Linked DNA regions of Homo sapiens: region 1 is linked to region 2. Evidence: promoter capture Hi-C in 16 types of primary human blood cells and fetal thymus (Javierre and others, 2016). All regions are on one chromosome and are shown on one strand. Each heading gives the region's core, a stretch centred on a gene start or on the middle of the fragment in contact. The rest is flanking DNA. Distances are from core to core; before and after follow the strand shown. Region 1 has its middle 69 kb from the start of ADCYAP1R1. Region 2 holds the start of MINDY4 (MINDY lysine 48 deubiquitinase 4).

Region 1 (5,586 bases), core at 1,358-3,857, 350 kb before region 2:
AAGAATTATGACAGGAGAAAGGTTCCAATTGTTATAACTAGATAAATGAATCACCTAATTTCTCAAGGGTAAATTTTTGGAGAATTGTAGGAAAATGGATCTGGTGACAGTATCTGGTTGCCATATTTTATTTTCACTATTGAACATAAGTTGTCTAGGTACGGTGGCCACATCTGTGATCCCAGCACTTTGGTAGGCTGAGGTGGGTGGATCGCTTGAGCCCAGGAGTTCAAGACCAGGCTAGGCAATATGGAGAAACCCCATTTCTAAAAAAAAAAAAAAAAAAAAAACAAAAAAATTAGCCAGGTGTGGTGTGGTGCACACCTGTATCCCAGCTACCCAGGAGGTGGTGGGAGGATCAATTGAGCCCAGGAGGTCAAGGCTGCAGTGAGCTGTGGTCCAGTCCCTGCACTTCAGCCTGGGAGACAGAGTAAGACCCCGTCTCCAAAAAAAAAAAAAAAGAACTTAACTGAATTCATCTTATTCTCCATTATTTGTTTCCTGTTTCTTTCCCTCTCTGCTAGAATTATTGTGCCAGCGATAACAAGATTGTCATATCTGCTGCTATGCCCCAAGGCCTGGAAGAGTGCCCAGCTCATTGAAGGCACTCAGTCAATAAGTGTCAGTAGGCTAGATGAACAGTTCTTCCATGCCTAGATCTAACCTGACCTTCAAGGCAAGTTTTCCCTAATCCTGAAACTGGACCTTATCTTTTCTGGGCCTTGTTGATGGCACATGTTTTTGTCTAGATTCTGTAGCAGTAGAGCCTGAAGTAGAGATCCTTGAGCAGGGATCTTACAGAAGGAGTGCATGGGGAGACACTGAAGGGCAGTGAGGAAGCGGGGATGGGTGGAGGAAGGAGCCAGACCTCAGCAGAATCAGCCTCATGCTGATCCAGCAGGAGCCACTGATGTCAACCACAGAGGTGGTCCCAACCAGAGGCAAGGCGGCTGGGCGGTTACCCCTACATCCCTCAGTCACTGGCTACCGGCCACCCTGGATGAGAAAGGTGAAGGGGGTAGTCTTACCCCTCAGAAATCTGCCAGCAATTGTCTGCAGAAGAGGGCAGGGTAAGCTCTTAGCAACCCAACCTGCAGCCGCTGGACTGGGGAAGGCGCCTAGTCCTGGCACTAGCAGCTTTGGGGAGGATGCATTTCCCTGTTTGCCTTCTTTTTAGAGTCTTTATTAACATTCTTAAAAATAATAAAGCTTCTTGAGATCAAGATTCTTATCTCTTTAACTTTCATGTCCTCAAAAGCATCGGATGATGGACTTAGTAAATATCTCAATGAAAATCCAAAGATGGATAGATCAGTTATGTTAGTGTTTACAATCTAGTGTGAAAATTCTTAGACACATGTTCACTTTCTAAATGACACCAAAGCCATGCTTCTTATATTTATGTGGTCTCAATAAATAAGTTTTCTGTATGATCAGAAAAAAAAAAGTAAATGTGTGCTTTATCAAAAAAATATAAAGGGTTAAACCACTGCAAAATCCTCTGTAGGACACATTCTTTCTACAGGCAATGTAAGACTAAAGTTTTTCCTCCAAATGTAAATTATAGTAAATATTTTAACTTGTTCTTGCCCTTCATTATCTCACTTATGAGTCATTGTGTGGAAACAAGCCTGGTTGGCAGAAAAATCGGAACTGGAAAGAGCTCCTGCTATTTCCAAAGGGGAGCTCTTGGCTGCTCGTGTTACCAACCAAATGACCAGAAGAGGGCAGTGCACACCCAGACGCTGAATTTTGCCCTAAGAAGCCAAGATGGGGAACTTGTTGAGGGGCAGCTTGGCTGGGGGAGGAGTGGCTCTGAGTTCCAGACATATTCTGTTGTCTGCTGCCTCACCCGCCACTCAGGCTAAGTGACTGTGGTTGGGTCACGGCCCGCTGTAAGTGTTCCTCTGCTTGGGATCTGCCTTTCTGTGCTTCCAGGTTTGCTACTGTAAACCAAAAGGTGCCTGCAACAGGTCTCAATTTAGAAGTTTATTTTGTCAAGGTTAAGGATTCATGCCCGAGAGACAGGTCTGTGCCTTTCTCCAAAGATGATTTTGAGGACTTCAATACTTAGAGGGGAAAGGGTAGCTACTGGGGGAAGAGGAAGACATTTTTAAAAGGTGTGAGTTCATAAGAGGCAAACAGTCGCATTCTTTTGAGTTTGATCAGCTTTTCTCTATGCCAGAAGGGGTAGAGGAACAGTCACTTATGAATTCATCTAGCTCAGTGGATCTGCACTTTTACCTAAGATAAAATAAACATAGGGCAGAGGAAGCAATCAGATATGCATTTGTCTCAGGGGAGCCGAGGGATGGCTTTGAGTCCTGTTCTTTGTCCCGTACCTATGAAGAGAAGCTATCAGTGTACTTTGTCGGGGTGAAATTCAACAGAACTGTTTCAGGGTTGAGACACTGGGTCCCAGAAGGAATTTCCCAGTGGGCAAATTGTGAGCGAGGGAGGGAGGGAGGATTTTTTTTTTTAATCTTTGTAGCTATCTCATTTAGCAATAAAATGAGAGACAGGTTTGCCCCCAGTTCCCAACTTCACTTTTCTCTTTGGCCTACTGATTTGATCCTGAGATTTCTTTTCCTTTCACACTGCCCCATGGGCTGGGCCCAATCTCAGGCCTGGTGTTGCTGAGAAGCTCAGTGCAGCCTGGGTCTCCCATAGGCCACAGGGCAGGCAAACCTCTCCTCAGAGCTGAGTGTGTGGTTCCAATCAGGGATGGGGCTCTAGCCAGTCATTGGGGGGCCAGTCAAAGCTGAAGATGGGGACATTCTGAGGACCAGGGCTGGGTCTGATATTTTGATTGCTTGAGTGGGCGACAGAGAGCAGTGTTTCCTTAAATTTCCCCCCAAAGATATAAATCATGCCCTTCGCAACCTAATCCTTTCCTCTGTATCCCTTTCACTCTGGTGGGAGGACTCCTTTCCAGCAAAATTCTTTCTTGGGAGCAAATAAGGACTGCAAACTGCCAGGTCCCTTTCCCAGGGAGGGGCCTTTCCATTGCCACTACATCATTTCCAGGGCCTAAGTGTGAGGCCTGGAACCTGCCTACTCCTTTCCCAGGAAGTGAGGATGAGGATGAGGATTGGGCTTTCATGGGAGAACTCTCCATGGCTTCTACCAACCCTGGGGCCAGTCCCAGTGGATTCTAGGGGCAACAGAAGACTCCCAACTAAGCTATCCAGCTCTGAGCCAGCTGCCAGCTCTTCCCCACCCAGTCATTTCCGCTGCCTGGTTCTCAGCCAGCTCTGGAGCCATGGGGCAGGCTGGGATGAGGTCTGGGCTTTGGTGAGAGTAGCCCCTTGGTTCCTGAAGGTGTGAAGCCTGCCCCTAACTGCAAAGATAAATGAGGACTGCAAAAGGACCAACCAGCTCCCCGACTCACCACTTCAGATGACTTCTAGGTCTAGAAGCCCTGGGGAGCCAGAATGAATCCCGGATCCTCCTGGGGAAAGCTACTCTGTTTTTTATAACATTGTCCTGTGGGCCAGACCCAAACTCAGGCCTGGTGTTGCCAAGAGGCTCAGTGCAGCCTGGGTCTCACACAGGCTACAGGGCATGCAGACCTCTCCTCCAAGCTGAGTGTCAGGTTCCAAACAGGGATGGGGCTGTAGACAGTCCTGGGGGTGCCCAGTCAAAGCCAAGGATGGAGGCCCTCAAGCCTTCCCCTCTCAAGCCTGGGGCAAGAGATGACCCAGCCACCTTCCTCTCAGCCAGTTGCTGGTTTCTATTCCACTCTTCATAGACCATTAGCAGCATTTGATCCAGATGACTGTCCTCTCCTAGAAACCCTTTCTTGGCTTCCCTGTCACTACACTCCCCTGGCTTTCCTCCTACATCCACACTCTGGATTTCTGTTGTCAACTGGCATCGTTCAAATATATTCTGGTAAAGAATTTTCCAGAACTAAAGACTTGAATTAACAGACTGGCAAAAGTATAACATGTGCCAAACAGGGTAAGAATGAAACTGTACATCAATAATAAAGACCAAGCTTAAAGGCAACCAAAGAATGAAAAAAAGTGTCAGGCTATTTTTATCTTCAAAAACAATAAATGTCAGTAGCAATCACAGTATAAAAGTGTTGAAAGAAAATAACTGCCCAACTAAAATACACAGCCACTTTCTGAACTCAATCTTATAAAGACTGAGTGCTCTCCCCTACACAGAACTACTTCAAAAGATTAACTTCAACAAGAAGGAAAGATTGGAAATCAAATATTTTAAGCAAAGAAGTATATTGATAGAGCTCAATAAGCTCAAACTACAAACAATTGTAGGAACTATATTTAGGATTTTAAATAAGGTATGTCTAAAAGAGTAGACAACAATAACAGATTCTGCAAATGTAAATCTTGGAGAAAGTTACACATGCTTAAGTATGTATCTTGTTTTGGAGAAGGAAAGAAGGATGATCAACTTTCAAGTTTTATGGAAAAACATAAAATTAGGTATTTTGTTAAAATTGTAAATGTAAACAACACAATTAGAATAGAATGTATATTTGCCATATCAGTAAAAGAAAGGGAAGGGAAATAAGATAATGCAATGGAAGGCAAAAAAAAAAAAAAAGAGAGAGCAGATGAGCAGGTAGGGGGTGAAACAAAGGCATGGCGTATAGACTGTAAGGTCATGAAATAAGCTCAAAATGTCCTCAGTCGCAGTGAATAACCATAGACTAATTATGCCCATCTAAACACAGGCTATCAGTTGGGATTAAAATAAATTTTTCATCAATATGTTACATAGAGAAGATATATCTAAAATATAAAAAAGACAGCCCCTTCCACTCTATGAGGACACGGTGAGAAGGCACCATCTATGAACCAGACAGCAAGTCCTCTTCAGACACCAGATCTGCCAGTTCCCTGATCCTGGACTTCCCAGCCTCCAGAAGTATTTAAACAGTCAAGTAAAATCAAGCTGGATAATCATGGCAGAAAGTGAGCTTGATCCCTATGAATATGTTCTCATGAATATGCGATGAGAAGGCTGACCAGTCTGTTGTGGCAGCCCCAACTCTGCTGCACAGAGACAGATGCTTGCAAGAATGACCAGGACCCTGTGATGATAATGGCATCAGCGCTACTATGATCTTGATGGCCTGGCTGGTGACTGCAGTGGTCTTGTTCCTACTGAGACCTCCTGATTGAAGAGGATCCGACGTACCTGAAAAGCCAACCAGTCCTCATAATGAACAAGATCCACCTGCTCCTCTTGTGGCTAATTTTGTGACATGGGAAGTGAAGGTGGTTAACACCTTGCAGGACCAAATGAACAACAATGACCAGAGTACTCTTAATTCTATGAGAACTGTTTTTCCTTTTGCATTTGCAATATGGGATGGGATGGTTTCCATGAGCTTCTAGAAATTTCACTCGCAAGCTTATTTTTGCTTCCTGTATTCTTGCCATTTCTAGTTACAGTATATTTGAGTAAATTATTGCATTTTTAAAAGTCACATGGGGTTGGTTGTCCTAAATTTAAACATTCCTTTCATTCTGCTTGTAACTGTGATCATAATTTTTGTGATGATTTCTGGTCTGATTGAAGGAAATTTGACCACTCTGCCTTTAAATA
Region 2 (5,052 bases), core at 1,511-4,010:
AGAGAAGGTATGAAATGGTCATCCAGGGTCTCAGAGGGTAAACAGTCTGGAGAGTTGCAACCAGGTGGGCAGGCACCCATAAGGCACCACAAGGGTGAGTGGCCATGGATTTAGAGTGATACCATCAACATAGTGGTGTGTGTTTCTCTCCAATCTCATTCAGCTCTATGGGCGCAAGTGTAGAGCAGGACGAGTGGAATTTTACTGTCAGAAGAGAATGATGAAAGGAGAGAAGCGCAAAAGAGCTGCACCTGTTATGGAGGGTGCAATTATAAGGATGGGTGGGTGAGAGGTAGGTGGGTTATGGTAGGCCCGAGGGACTGTGAAAAGTTGGCAGGAACAATGCAATATAGATGTGGTGAGGCTGGAGAAGAGTTTACGTGGGGCTATGATGGGAAACAAGCTAGAAATTTTGACAGGTGGGAAGCTTGGAATTGAGATTACAGAAAGGGCGCAGTACTGGTAACAACAAGCCCAGCTCATGACCATGGGGCAGGGTGGCAGAGGGAGGATGGCACAGTCACTGCAGGAGTGGAGCCACAGACTCAAGAAGCTGGGGCAGCAGAAGAGTCACCTCAGCAGACCCTGCCATCTCCAGGAGACTATCATGACTCCCCCGAGGGAAGACCACACTTGGTGAGTTCAAGTAGGCCAAAGTGGTTGAAGGGTAGAGGGCGGAGCAAGCAGTCATGGAAGATGAGGTCTGAGGGTAGCCAGAGCCAAGTAATGGAGAGACTTGAAGTCTAATTATGATGGGAAGCCAGTAGAGGGGTTTGAGCAGGGGAATTACATGGTCTGACCTGCTCACCCTGGGCAAGTTTCTTGGCCTCCTGGTCTCACAATAATCTTATGTGAAAGGGAATACTTATACCTATCTTTCAGGACTGTTACGAGGATCTGAGACAACAAACCAGCACCTTCTAGGTACCTGGCACCAAGGTGGCAGCTCTCTTGGTTACGACTGCTGGGTGCAATGACTGCCTGTGCAAAACCCTGTGGGGAGCACGTGGTCTCTGCCCTAGAGCAGAAGGCGATGAGAAAGCAGTATACCTGGGCTGCAGTCCCAGCTCACTGTGACCTTCTGAGTAACTGTGGGCAACTCCTTTCTACTCTTAGGGCCTTAGTGTGCCCAGATAAAACATGCGAGGGAGAGGAGACCAGGGGAACTCGGCCATGTCAAGTGGGGGGTGGTGGGGAGGGATGTGGGAGAGGCTAGAAATGAAATTGAGATGGTAAGCTGGGGTCAAGCTACAGGGCAGGCTTGGATGTCAGTGAGGACACTGGATTTCATTTGTACTCAAGAAAGAACACGAGGAAGCCCTCTCTAAGAGTTTTTTTCAGTGACCCAGACTTAAAAGAAATGATGTTAACAGTCAGCTTTCCAGGGTGTGTCAATTGATATCCAACATGCAGCCAGGACAGGTGATGGCAGGTCAATTAGCCATAAAGACAGGGCAGATGCGACAAAGCCAAACGCATTTAAAATTTTTTCAAATAAAAATAAATCATAAAAAACACACAAAGACACTTTCCAAACAGGTGCACTTCAGAGACACCTGTTTGGTGTCAGAAACAGTGAGGGTGGGAGGAGGTATAAAGTTGAACACCTACGTGCACATTGTATCTATATGTCAGATCCAATGCTTGGAAGCTGCCCATATGTTAATATTAATCCTCATTATAAATCTGCAAAGAGTAGGTCTTACTTTCCTGTTTTACAGATAACGAAATTGAGACAGTGAGTAAAGTACTGAGGTTCACACTGCAAACTAGTAGCAAATATTTGAATTGTCTCCGTCTGACTTCAAAGTCCTTCCCCTTTCCTCCATTCAAAAAATTACGTGTATGTGTTTTCATACAAGACAAGTACCCATCGCCCTAGCCCAGTATGACACTGCAAGGACAGACAAAACACACAGAGTGCAGCCCTCAGTCACCATGTGCTGAATGAGCTAATGTATGTCCCCCTCCACTACCACGCCCAAGACCCCCCGGCGAGCTCCTTCCCCACCGAGGTCCCCATCTCCACCCTGAGGCCAGATGACAGCTAAGGACCTTCCAAGCTTGTGAACACTGCAAAAACTCTCCTGGGACAAGACAATAGGAAAACTTACAAAAATTAAAGCAACCACTGGAATTCCCACTGTTGACTAAAATGACTAAGGGTTTGACCGTCAAGAACTTTTCTGGGCTTTTGGGGTTCCCTCTGGGAGAAGTTCTTTCCGAGTGGGACCCTGACTTGCGTGGGTAGCGCACGGAGGCCGGCAGCCAGGCTAGGGCGCAGGCCTGCCCGCTGTGCGCCCGCGCTAGGATTGCTTGGCGCGGCCCCCAGGCCCCCTCCCCAGCTGCCGCCGCCCCGGAGCGCGGATGCCCCAGGAGGGCAGCGGACGGGGTCCAAACCGTGCCTTGCGGAAGCGCCCGGTGACGACGGCAGAAACGCCTCGTGGGAAATGTAGTTTCCCCTGTCCCGGGAAAGCGGCGCTCTTCTGGGGCATCTCTGGAGCAGGCAGTAGGTAGGGAACGGGCGCCCTCCCAGAAGCTGCAAAGCCTTCAGGGGAGACCCCGATGATCCCCCCAAATTAGAGCCACTTCCTGGGCTTTGGAGGGGGCGAGCCGTTACCTTTCTGCTGAGGAACTCCCTGACCAAGGAGGCGGCCACCTCCTCCACGAAGAGGCTGTCCATGGCTCTGGCTCTGGCTCTGCCCACGAGGCCCACGCCGGGCCGCAGCACCAGGCAACTGGGTCTGTCCGGCGCAGTATGGCCGCGTTGCCGTGGCGACGGCGGCGTCGGCGCGGCAAGAACTCCTCCCCTTCCCTGGGGCTGGCGGGCTGGGGCGGGAGGGAAGGGGTGGAGCGTCCCGCAAACTCGCGTCTCGGAGTGGGAGGCCGCAGTCAGGGCGCCCTGGTGTCGCCTAGGGCCCCGTCCACGGCTCCGGACTCGGGGCCTCACTCTGACCCTGGCCCTGGTCATCTGAGAGGCCTAGGACAAATTACCGCTCCGCTCCGAGGCTCCATTTTCCTAGACATAAAATGGGAAGAATACCTGCCTCCTTGTTTCTGGAGGACTAAACTCACAGGGAAGTGACCCCCTCAGGTCCACCCTCAGCACCACGGCCCCCTCTGGGGCCACCAACGCTACTGACCTTGGCGGGCCTTGACGGTGGGGGCAAGGAAGCCCAGCATTCTGCTTCTTGGGCACCGAAATTAAAGGAGATGTTCCTCGCCCCCTTGGTGCCTGCTTTCCCGTAATGAGACTGCCATTTATTGATCACCAAGCTCTTAACTCACGGTTGCACTTTTAATCCTTACAACTTCCTGGCTAGGTAGTTACTGTTGGCCCCATTCTTTAAAACGGGACACTGAGATTCAGAAAGGCTAAGATTTTGCTGAGGCCCACACAGCTGGGTACTGGGAAAGTTGGGTTTCTAACCAAGCCCAGTACATTTTCCCCGAACTTAGTCACCTGGGTTCCACCTTCACAATCTTTGCCACTTCCGCATGTTACCTATTGTATTCCTTTGCTTGGGCTGCCATACAAAGTACCACAGACCATGTGGCTTAAACAACACATTTATTGTCTCCCAGTTCTGAGGGCTACAGACCAAGATCGAGGTGTCAGCTGGATGGTTTCTCCTGAGGCCTCTCTCCCTGGCCTCTATTATAGATGGCCACCTTCTCCCAGTGTCTTCACGTGGCTAGCCGTCCGTGTGTGCCTGTGTCCTAATCTCTTCTTATAAAGACATCAGTTGTATTGGAATAGGGTCCACCCTAATGACTGCATTTCCACTTCATCACCTCTTTAAAGACCCTATCCAACACAGTCACATTCTGGAATACCAGGCATTAGGACTTCAACACGGGAATTTTTTTTTCTTTTTTTTTTTTTTTTTTTGAGACAGAGTCCCGCTCAGGTGCCCGGGCTGGAATGCAGTGGCGCAATCTCGGCTCACTGCCAAGTGAACAACCACCTCCCGGATTCAAACCATTCTCCTCCCTCAGCCTCCTGAGTAGCTGGGATTTCAGGCGCCCACCACCGTGCCCAGCTAATATTTGTACTTTTAGTAGAGACGGGGTTTCACCATGTTGCCAGACTGGTCTTGAACTCCTGACCTCAGGCAGTCCGCCCACCTCGGCCTCCCAAAGTGCTGGGATTACAGGCGTGAGCCACCGCACCCGGCCCAACACAGGAGTTTTGAAAGACACAATTCAGCCCTTAACCCCTATACAGTTACTTATGTATTATTTTCTTTAAATCCACATACATGTTTTACAATTTATTTTAAAAGGAAAGTGTTCCCAAGCAGTAATAGCCACAAGATCTTGGGTTTTATGTGCTTATTAAATCTCTAATACACATTAAAACAAACACAAAACCAGAAAGGTATGCATTCACCTAAATCACCTTACAACCACCACTGGCACATGTACCACACTTGGGAAGCAACTATCTCACCCTATACAGTCTCCATAGGACGTAGCTTTAATGTGGCAGATTGCACCATAATCTCCAGGCAATTTCCCCTCTCAACGTGCAATGGTTCTTTGAGAAGCCTCTTTTGAACATGTTGTGCTATGTGAGAAAGAGCCATGTGCTCTTATATGTAGAGAGAGAAGGGCAGAGTTGCAGGAGACAGTATGATGCTTGGTCCAGGGGCCCTCATGTTCCAGCTGTGAAGACACACTGATGGATGATGTGTAATAATGAAAGAATAACATGAGACAGATTTATGCTCCATAAGAGATTGTGTATCAGGGGTCCCCAACCCCCTGGGCTGTGGACCGGTATGGGTCTGTGGCCTATTAGGAACCAGGTCACACAGCAGGAGGTGAGTAGCTGCAAAGGAACATTACCACCTGAGCTCCACCTCCTGTCCAATCAGCCACAGCATTAGCTTCTCATAGAATCACAAACCCTATTGTGAACTGCACATGCGAGGGACCTAGGTTGCGCACTCCTTATGAGACTCTAATGCCTGATGATCTGAGGTGGAACGGTTTCATCCCAAAACCATCCCCCACCTCCCATGCAAAAACTGTCTTCCACGAAACTGG

Evidence for each region. Contacts are between HindIII fragments. The CHiCAGO score rates a contact against its expected background, and 5 or more counts as called.
Region 1: a fragment that was not itself captured here is called in contact with the fragment with the promoter of MINDY4 in region 2 in 2 of 17 cell types (M2 macrophages and endothelial precursors); the score reaches 6.7 in M2 macrophages.

Annotation. Positions count from the first base shown.
Region 1 is chr7:31,118,924-31,124,509 of GRCh38, reverse strand. It overlaps the pseudogene LOC124901821. Among named protein-coding and RNA genes, the nearest start is that of ADCYAP1R1, 69 kb to the right of the region's middle. The HindIII fragment of the contact is 2,791 bases long and covers 1,212-4,002 here.
Region 2 is chr7:30,769,125-30,774,176 of GRCh38, reverse strand. MINDY4 (MINDY lysine 48 deubiquitinase 4) reads right to left here and starts at 2,760. Exons shown (of 18, transcript NM_032222.3): 1 at 2,621-2,760. The coding sequence starts at 2,683. All of the region lies in intron 3 of INMT-MINDY4 (INMT-MINDY4 readthrough (NMD candidate)), which reads right to left. RefSeq lists silencers at 2,200-2,349, 2,720-2,769, 2,830-2,879 and an enhancer at 2,350-2,644. The HindIII fragment of the contact is 5,437 bases long and covers 2,066-5,052 here.